2 separate regions of the Homo sapiens genome follow, and region 2 is linked to region 1. Evidence: promoter capture Hi-C in 16 types of primary human blood cells and fetal thymus (Javierre and others, 2016). All regions are on one chromosome and are shown on one strand. Each heading gives the region's core, a stretch centred on a gene start or on the middle of the fragment in contact. The rest is flanking DNA. Distances are from core to core; before and after follow the strand shown. Region 1 holds the start of LRRC63 (leucine rich repeat containing 63). Region 2 holds the start of CPB2 (carboxypeptidase B2).

Evidence for each region. The method cuts DNA at HindIII sites, captures the fragments that hold promoters and counts their contacts. A CHiCAGO score of 5 or more calls a contact.
Region 2: the fragment with the promoter of CPB2 here is called in contact with the fragment with the promoter of LRRC63 in region 1 in 1 of 17 cell types (neutrophils); the score reaches 5.3 in neutrophils.

The regions. Positions count from the first base shown.
Region 1 is chr13:46,209,628-46,213,999 of GRCh38, forward strand. It overlaps LRRC63 (leucine rich repeat containing 63), which reads left to right and starts at 2,301. Exons shown (of 10, transcript NM_001282460.2): 1 at 2,301-2,632; 2 at 3,375-3,492. The coding sequence starts at 3,408. It overlaps LOC107984578 (a long non-coding RNA gene), which reads right to left and starts at 2,225. Exons shown (of 4, transcript XR_001749863.3): 1 at 268-2,225. RefSeq lists a silencer at 2,057-2,386. The HindIII fragment of the contact is 5,320 bases long and covers 425-4,372 here.
Region 2 is chr13:46,102,215-46,106,789 of GRCh38, forward strand. It overlaps CPB2 (carboxypeptidase B2), which reads right to left and starts at 2,819. Exons shown (of 11, transcript NM_001872.5): 1 at 2,722-2,819. The coding sequence starts at 2,795. The HindIII fragment of the contact is 3,608 bases long and covers 2,788-4,575 here.

The DNA of each region.
Region 1 (4,372 bases), core at 1,051-3,550:
TAAAAAAATTAATATGAACATAAAAACACAAATTACTCCATTATTTCCATAAGGTAAAATATTAGGTTAAAACTACAATGGCCAAACTGTTTAGCAAACCTCTGTCCTATTTTAAAGGGAAATAAATAAATAAGAGATAGGTCTATGGAAAATAATGAAGTTGTCTAGCAACACTTTTCACATCACTTCCACCATTTCAACAGAACCAACAGCAAATCTAAGGTTCCCCAAGCGTTTCCCACTTATTAGGGAAATCGATAGCATTACCTGCGGGGTGCCTGCGGTTGCTTCTGCATAAGGCTTTTATCTCATTTTAGCAACATTTAAAAAATGCAGGATGTCTATAACCTTGGCACTCATCATTACGCTGGCATCTTTAGTACAATTTGCTAATAGAGTGAAAGCACTGTGGTTCAGTTTGGGAAGCTTCTTCATAAGGTTCTGCCAAACTGCAAAGGGGACGGAACAAATAAATAGGCTGACCGTACATACATCAGAAAAAGCAGACCCTTAAAATCCAAAAGGGAGTTATTCATTATTTCAAAAACACGTTATTTTACAAAAGAAGAAAGAAAATTGAGGGGATAATATTTTCAAAAATATAAGAACTATAAAATAATCTAAATTGAATTTTGTTTGTCCTGTCTAAACTCATCCTATACTGATATATCATTTCCATAGACAAAGCGAGTCAGATGTGTTAGAATAACATATATACATATAAAATATACCAAGCCATGGATTTAATTTTCATAATAACTATCTCATTTGCCTAAATGTTTGGTACTAAGTGGTAGAAATAGAAGACAAAATGTTCACACCTGAGATTACATATTAAACCGCCCTAGGTTTTAGTCTCATACTTGCTAGAAGAAATCTGCAAGGAATGATACCTGGATGCCTGCGGATTCCAAGTGTGACAAAGCATTTTTTGAAAAAGCATTCAGAAGCCTTGCTTTCGACTACACAAAGCTAAGCATAAATTTTAAAGGCCAAACGTCAGTCAGTAAAACTGAATTCCTGTAGTTCTCATGGTTCCAACGATCTTGAAGAGCATAGGTACCTGACTCAATTTACACTGTCATTTTTTATGCTTAAAAATATAAACCTTTTTTCACATTTACAAAATATGCACGATATATATTACTTGAGACTAATCTTAGCCACAGAGCTGCCTTTTATTTTCAGCTTTGTATTTCTGAGAAACTAATGAATCTATGGTGTAGATAACAGCAAAAGTGGAAATAAATTCATAGTCTGGGGCAGCAGTATAATTGGGACACAGTAAACTTACAAGGAAAAGAAACAGTACACTACTACTGTAAAGGAAAACAAGTTGCATAATATTTTCCAGAGTCTGATTACTTTTTTGTTAAAACTTTTCTACTTTTTTCATTGATTGTTTTAAAACATGTTTGCTACTAAGGAGAAAAAGGAAGACATGGTTATGGTGTGAATCTTGAAAGATCCCCAAAGCTAGAAAGATTTATACAGAAGTCTCTCATTTTCCAACTTCTGTTATAAAGTTCCTGCGCTAGTACTTAGAAAAAACCAAACCTGGAAGGAAGCTCTACCTAGTTTACTTTCTGAGTTCGGATTTCCGCATCTATCAGATGAGCTCTTTCTAGTGCTCTTTCCCCCTCAAATCTCCAGAGAAACACGCACATTTTTGCAAACACACACGATGTATCTATGACTGCACACACAGGTTCATCAACACCATGACAGAGGCGACACGTCACAATATGATAACCAGAACAGAGGACGATGACAGTGAGAAATGGGTTTCTTTTATGGCCCGCTTGGATCCCTAATGCCCTTATTTCTACACAATCCAGCCTCAGCCAGGAACTTTAAAGGATCAGAAAGAGAAAACAGGTTGCATGAAAGGAAGAGAAAGAAAACCGAATGCCCGCTTTTCGAGAGCACTGCAAAATTAGCCCCGGGACCCGGCTGCACAAAAGTGCAGCCTTAAAGAATGCCAGCCCATATTCTAGACACCCAAGTAAAGCATCCTGTAATCGAGAGAAAATAATAAATAATAGTGGTCATTGCCATTAAGCATAAAAATAGTAATAACAATTGTCACCACGGCGTTCCGTACAGCAGCTGCGCGTGGAGCCGGCTTCTCCTCCGGCCCCCACGGCCCGCAGCTTCCCCTGCAGCCCCACAGTGCGTCGGAGGAAGGCGAGGGCTCCGCGCGCGCTGCACCGTGGGCTGGGCCTGCCCCTCCCGGCGCCCGCCTCGCCTCGCCTGTCCCGCGCCCGCCTCGCCTGTCCCGCCCCCGCGCCTGCGCGTCAAGTGGCTGGGCTGGCTTAGCGGACCCCGGTTGCTAGGGTGTGTCTCCTTGGCCTCCTAGAGGGTGGGGATCCGTGGTGCTTCTTCGGGAACAGCCTCCTGCAGGAAGACCCTCGCTGGACCTTTACCTCGCTGCCTAGATTCCGAGGAAAAGGAGATAGGAGACGAAAAGCCAGTTGGTTTGGAAAGCGGCCGATTATCCTAAAGGGTAGTGTGGGAGTCCAGCACTTCCATGCCCCTCTTTGGGTACTACGGAAGGGAGATTTCCAGCATCGTGTGGAACATATGACCAGGGAGTACACCTTGAGCGCTTGTGTGCAGTTATCTTTTGGCGGTAAACGGCCCATTTGTGCAGTTTCAGGGTGTTCCCTTCTAGGCTATCAATGGAATAATGCCGTGCCAGGCACTTTTGATGTTGCCCTGCAAACTAAAAGCACATTTTGGGGGTGCATCTTCTCGCATTATTTCTAAACAGTATGAGTTGGGATCCAGCAGCCCTGGGAAATCTCATTATAGTGAAACCCATCTTATTTTAGGATTGAATTGTTTTGGCCCAAGCATAGTGGTTGAAAAACAAGCCATTATAGAAAGAAAACAATTTGTTTGTGAATGGTTAGATATGGTGGGTCTTCAGAGGCTTATCTAATGAAGGCATCTTCTACACATTTCTGACCAAATTCTCTTTCTACATTTATAGCGATAACATTTTGGAGAGAGAGAAAAAAAATGTCATTTCGACTATTCTGAAAAATCAGTATTTACTAGTTGAAATAGCATTGGCAAATTGAACTTTGTACTAACATGGAAAATTGTAGAATGATCCTGGGTAGTAATAATACACATATTTTTAAAATTCTATGTTTACTTATAACCCTACATTTTAACTGGATTCTTTCTATTAATAGAAGTTTTAAAGAATTATTTTCTTACCCTCTTTTTTTTTCATAAAGGAATTCTGCCTGGATTCAGTAGAGTATTGGTACAGAATGATTTTCTTTAAGATGTAATCTAAATTCTTATTATTTTTCAACAATTCAAACATATTCAAAACCTTTTCAATTCTCATTTAAACCAAGGATTATGAAAAACAGCACTTATTATTCATTAAAATGCAAAAGCCCCCACTGCTTCTTCGAAGACCCTTACCTCCAAAATTCACTAAGCTGTCTTTACATGAGAAAAAAACCCATACAGGTATGTGTATTAATCAGATATGTGTATTAACATTTATGTATCTTTCATAGAAATTCCTTGACTTGCACAGCTCAGAATCACAATAAATACACTCACTAATAACTTACAAATGTTTGTTGTCAGGTGATAACATCCAATTCAATTCCACAGATGCATTTACTGATACTTATTGGTGGACTTAGTAGATTCAAGTTTATCTCATCGATAAAATTTACTTGTAACCCCAGAATTGGTACTCAAAGGGCTTTCTCAGTCATGCGTGGATATGTGCAGAGCACTGAAAATGAGTCACCCAACACACATGCCTCCAGCTGAGGTGGAACAAGGCTACCTCTACCTTCTTGTTTCAGCTCTCATATTGTAAACGGGTACTGTTTTCCCTGTCTGTTTAGCTCTATGTTTCTTGAATGTTTGTGCTTTTAGTTAGTGATTTCACTGTGGGCCCCAAGCATAGTGTTGAAGTACTGTCTAGTGTTCCTGAGCACAAGAAGGCTGTGATGGGCCTTACAGAGAACAAGATATGTGTTAGATAAGTTTCCTTCAGGTGTGAGTAGTGTTGTTGGCCCTAAGTTCAATGTTAACAAATCAACTGTTTATATTTATTAAAGTGTCTTTAAATAGAAACAAATATAAAACAAAATTAGTGTTGATCAGTTGATGAAAATGTTGAAACCAGAGGTTTGCAGGAACCTAGCCCCATATTTCTTCCAGGAGAAATGGTTCAGTAATGAGTAATTCATTGTTTGTAGAACAGAACTACTGCAAATAACAAGGACCGAATATATTTAGTGAGCAAAAACAGACCTTACCTGTTCCCTTCATTAGTTACCCACTGGGATACTGATTGTAATCAATCAATCATATAAGTAAATGCAAAATT
Region 2 (4,575 bases), core at 1,569-4,068, 110 kb before region 1:
CTAGTGTCTCTTACTTCCTCTTTCCAAATAGTCTGGGCTGGCAGGCTGCATTTAGGTAATCACTGCACAATACAATTACTGATTCTGTTTACAAGATTCTTGCTAGTATTTTATTTTTACCCTTTATAGTGTTTGGCTTTTAAAAGCAAATGAATATGGAGTCATGATTTTTTGGCTGCCTTTCCCTTTGGCATATGATATTTATGCCTTTAAAACTTGTTGTTGTTCCAGGGCATTTCACTGATGAAATTTATCAAAATGAACCTACAAATCAGCCACTAAGAGACTGCATGAATAAAAACTGTTAGTAGGAAAATGATTATGACAAAAAAAAAAAAAAAAACAAAGAACAGCTTTAAGAAAAAGCCAGACTGTTAGTTTTTTTTTTTTTTTTTAGAAGGGTTGATATTCTGAACCCCAGCAACAATTTATCAAAGTCTGTTGCCCTGAATGAAATTAGATTTCCTTTTTAGCTTCAGGAATAGGCCATTCCTGGAAAAGTGGAGCACAGAAACATTTGGTAAAAAAATTTATTTTTACTCACAGAAAGAGTAGTTTGCAATGTTATTTCCAGTGAAGGGATGGGAACCAGGATTCAGATATTCATCTGTCTACAATACTGAGGTCCTCCTACCTCCTCTCCTCTGCAAAGGGACCCTCGCAGTATGCAAAAGTATTAAATATTTTTAATGTGATATTCTTTGGTTAAAATATAGTCACATTCTCATTCCTTTTTTCAAGCATAAGTATCAGTCAGATTTCAGAGTATAAGCTGAAGCAACAAATAGTAACAAAGCCCATGCATGAAGATATGTTCTCACTCATTTTTTTACTATTTTATTGTTGGCTACTTCTTCTATTTGCGTTATATTTAGTGTCACTAAGCTGCTATACACGTACTCATTTGAAGAGATGTGCTAAAGCTTTTAGTGTGTTTTGCTATTGATTATCCTATCCAAGAGTTTGGGTTACTCTACGATCAAGATGGCGGTCTGCAGTGAGCCCACCTGCCCGCCAACCTCTGCAACAACCAGCTGAGGATAATTGCACTGGGCTGACGCCAAGGCCATGATTAGATCTGCTAGTGGGTGAGAACCATGAGACTGAACCTCTAATCCCGAACCTCTCTTCCAAGCTACTTTCCAAACCAACTGCTGCCTGCAACTCCCTTTGACTAAATCTGACCTTCCTTCAAACTGGCTCTCTTCCTAATTTCCAGATTTTATGGAGGCAATGCTGTCCAGTGCATGGAGTTGAAATGAGGCTAAAGTGGGTTTGAATCCAAGCTCTACATTTACTGTTTGATCTTGGGCCAATTATTTATTCTTCCTGAGGCTCAGTTTCCTCCTTTGTAAAATGTCAGTAAAGATTCCTAGCATGTAGGATTTTATGCATTTAAAGAGATAACATTTCTAAGTGACTAGTTCAGTGCCTGGCACAAACACAGGCACTAAATAAGCAGAGGTTTCCTCCCTTTCCCCTAACTGTCAATGGTACTGCCACTGTGTACAGTAGCCAAGTTGGACATGTTGATACCAATTTTTCTCTTCTCCCCCTTTCCCTTAACTGAAGCCAATTATCAAGTTATGGAATATTAGAACTAGCAAGAACCTTAGAAATCCTGACCATATGATTCACCGATAAAATACAGAGAAAGACATAAGTCACTGATCATTGCAGCAATCTTGACCCCCACGTCAATTAAATAACAAAAATAATATCATTTTATGATAGAATTTGTTGCTCGACATTCGACAATCATGTTGAACAAAAGAAGATCAATCAACTATAATCAGTTCAGTGATCATGTACAAACACAGCTTCAGGCTCACAAGTCAAGATCTATTTTCCAAACCATTGTCCTATGGTTATTTATGACCGTGAACATTTTTTTGGTGGTAGAATGTTCCTTGTCACTGGTATATTCCTTTGCCCTATGTCTCTTCTTTCTTTGTCATTTACTAACATGAGGAGAGGGATCTGTCTCAAAGATAATTGGAGGAGAAAGCGATCATAGAACCAAAACAAAGGGGAAAAAATAAGATAATTCCAAAGGAAACAATATCAATGTTTTAAAGCCTAAAAATTGACTACTTAATAAATTACATTACATATACCCTGGAACTATTTTCTCCATGCATTGCATGTGCTATAGCATGAATTCATTTGTGTTCTTCTAGATAGTTTATCCTAAGGGAATCTACTAAGCAAAATAAGAATCAGATAATAGTTCTTTATCACACAACTCTTCTTCCTTTCATATTCCATGCTAAATAATCATGCATGATCCAAACCTCCTATTTAACACTTCACCCTCTTCTTCCTCCTATGTTCCATGTACAAGGGGAAAATAAATGATCCATAGTTAACTTTTTTTATGTGAAGACAGGAAGAATATGAATCATACATCAAGTTAGAGTATAAATAGTTACGTTTATAAAAGATTTAATTTCTTGAATCTCCATAGTCACTGGATATGCGTATCATCCAAGGTTCTCCCAATAATAAAACCAGAGCCAGGAAAGAAAAAAGACCCTGTCTTTAGTGATAGCCCATTGTGCTAAAGTCTACTTATTTGTCAGGGCAACTTGGAAAGTTCTGAAAGACCTGGCCTTCAAAGTTTACCATTTTGTCCACCAGCTCAGTGCACTGACTTGACACGACATGAGGCAAACAAGTGAGGAGAGTGGCCCACCACAGTCTAAGATTCTATTGGGTTACCTCTGAAACGCGAAGACATGCTGCTCACAGAAGAGAACAATGGGTACAAGGACTGCAAGGCTGCAAAGCTTCATCCCAACAGCAATTTTCTGTACAACAAATTTCTCTGAAGAGAAAAACCCAGATCATTGATTGCATAACAGCCTTCTTTACACACTGGTTAAAATATAACGGCATGTTCCCTCTTGTTCCTGTGGGTCAATCAACTTAGCTTCCATTTCCACTCCCAAAAAGAGAAATATTATTGGCTTAGTTAGGCTGTTGCTTGATAATTAAACACTCAAAAAGAGTATGATGAGAGTTGCTCTTAATTTAGACTATCTAGAAAATGTGTAACTCCTTGGGGAAGGTAGGGCCAAGAATAAAAGGGTAGTAATACAGTAGGATCTTGTCTGGTTTATTGCAGAACAATAGCTATAGAATATTGACTAATGGATATATAGCCCATGTTGAGGGAGATCTACCGTGAAGTACTATAAATGTCTTCCCTTGCCTCTGACTTTTTCAACATTTTAAATTTATGAAGATGTAAAAAGTGAGTTCCTCAAATCTGGCTAATCCAATCCAATGTTGAAGTGCAGTTTGTAAGGATGATTACAGGATCTCTGTTCAAAAAGATGTTTCCTTGACCATATGGAATGATAGGCCCACCCCCAATAGGAATACTATTTCATGGAAGCTGGTTCAAGCAGTAAAGACATCAGGTTACTTTGAATCTCATTTATTTAAAGGTCACCATAATAGCCATCAATTAAATCCAGGCCCATCCCCTATCATCTTGAAAGTAGCATCAAATAACATTTTGTCTAGTATGAGGCCATATCCTACCCTCTGTAAGTGAGTGGAGCCCTCTTCCCCTACATTCCCATTGGTTAATGCACTTGAATGTTCTTGAAGTCAGAATTGGCAAATTTGCAAAATAAATCAGCCTGCCCACAATTAACTTCTGAGAAGAAAATGATTTTTTTTCTTTTTTCTTTTCTTTTTTTTTTTTTTTTTTTGAGACAGAGTCTCACTCTGTAGCCCAAGCTGGAGTGCAGAGGCGTGATCTTGGCTCACTGCAACCTTCACCTCTGGGGCTCAAGCAATTCTCCTGCCTCAGCCTCCCAAGTAGCTGGGACTAGAGGTGTGCCCCACCACACCCAGTTAATTTTTTTTGTATTTTTAGTAGAGACAGGGTTGCACCATGTTGCACTGGATGGTCTCAAACTCCTGAGCTCAGGAGATCCACCTGCCTCTGCCTTCCAAAGTGCTGGGAATACAGGCGTGAGCCATCGTGCCTGGCCAGAAGAAAATGATTGAGATTTCAAACTTTTCCTTTTGAGATTTAAAACTATTGAATGATATTTAATGAATTAAAGTGACCTCCACTGTAACCACTTGTTGTATAAGAAAGAAGAAGAAATAAGAAAATATGTGTGTGTCTGCTCATATGTGGAGAAAGAAACATAAGAAGGATAGATTAGAAATCAATGAGACTGGTTATCCACGGGAGGTGAGTGGAAACACACTGGAAAAGACAGGGTAGAAGAGACAGGGAGGGACGCTTCTTTGGGTGAAGTGTTTTGAATAGTTCTGAACTTTAGAACTACTCTGAATTTTAGAACCATGTTCTTTTCACATATGTACTTAAAACAAGCAAACAAATAAATTTTAAAAAATAATACAAACAAAAACGAACCTGTGTTTCAAATGAATAACATAATCACACTGAAGGAGAGAAAGAAAAACTAACCCAAGTAACTTTTACCTTATCTTTTTAACATAAAAGTTAACTTTAAAACAAACAGTCAAAATAGTTAAAATATGCTAATAAATTCTATCAATTTTTGTGCTACTTATTTTGTATCTGTG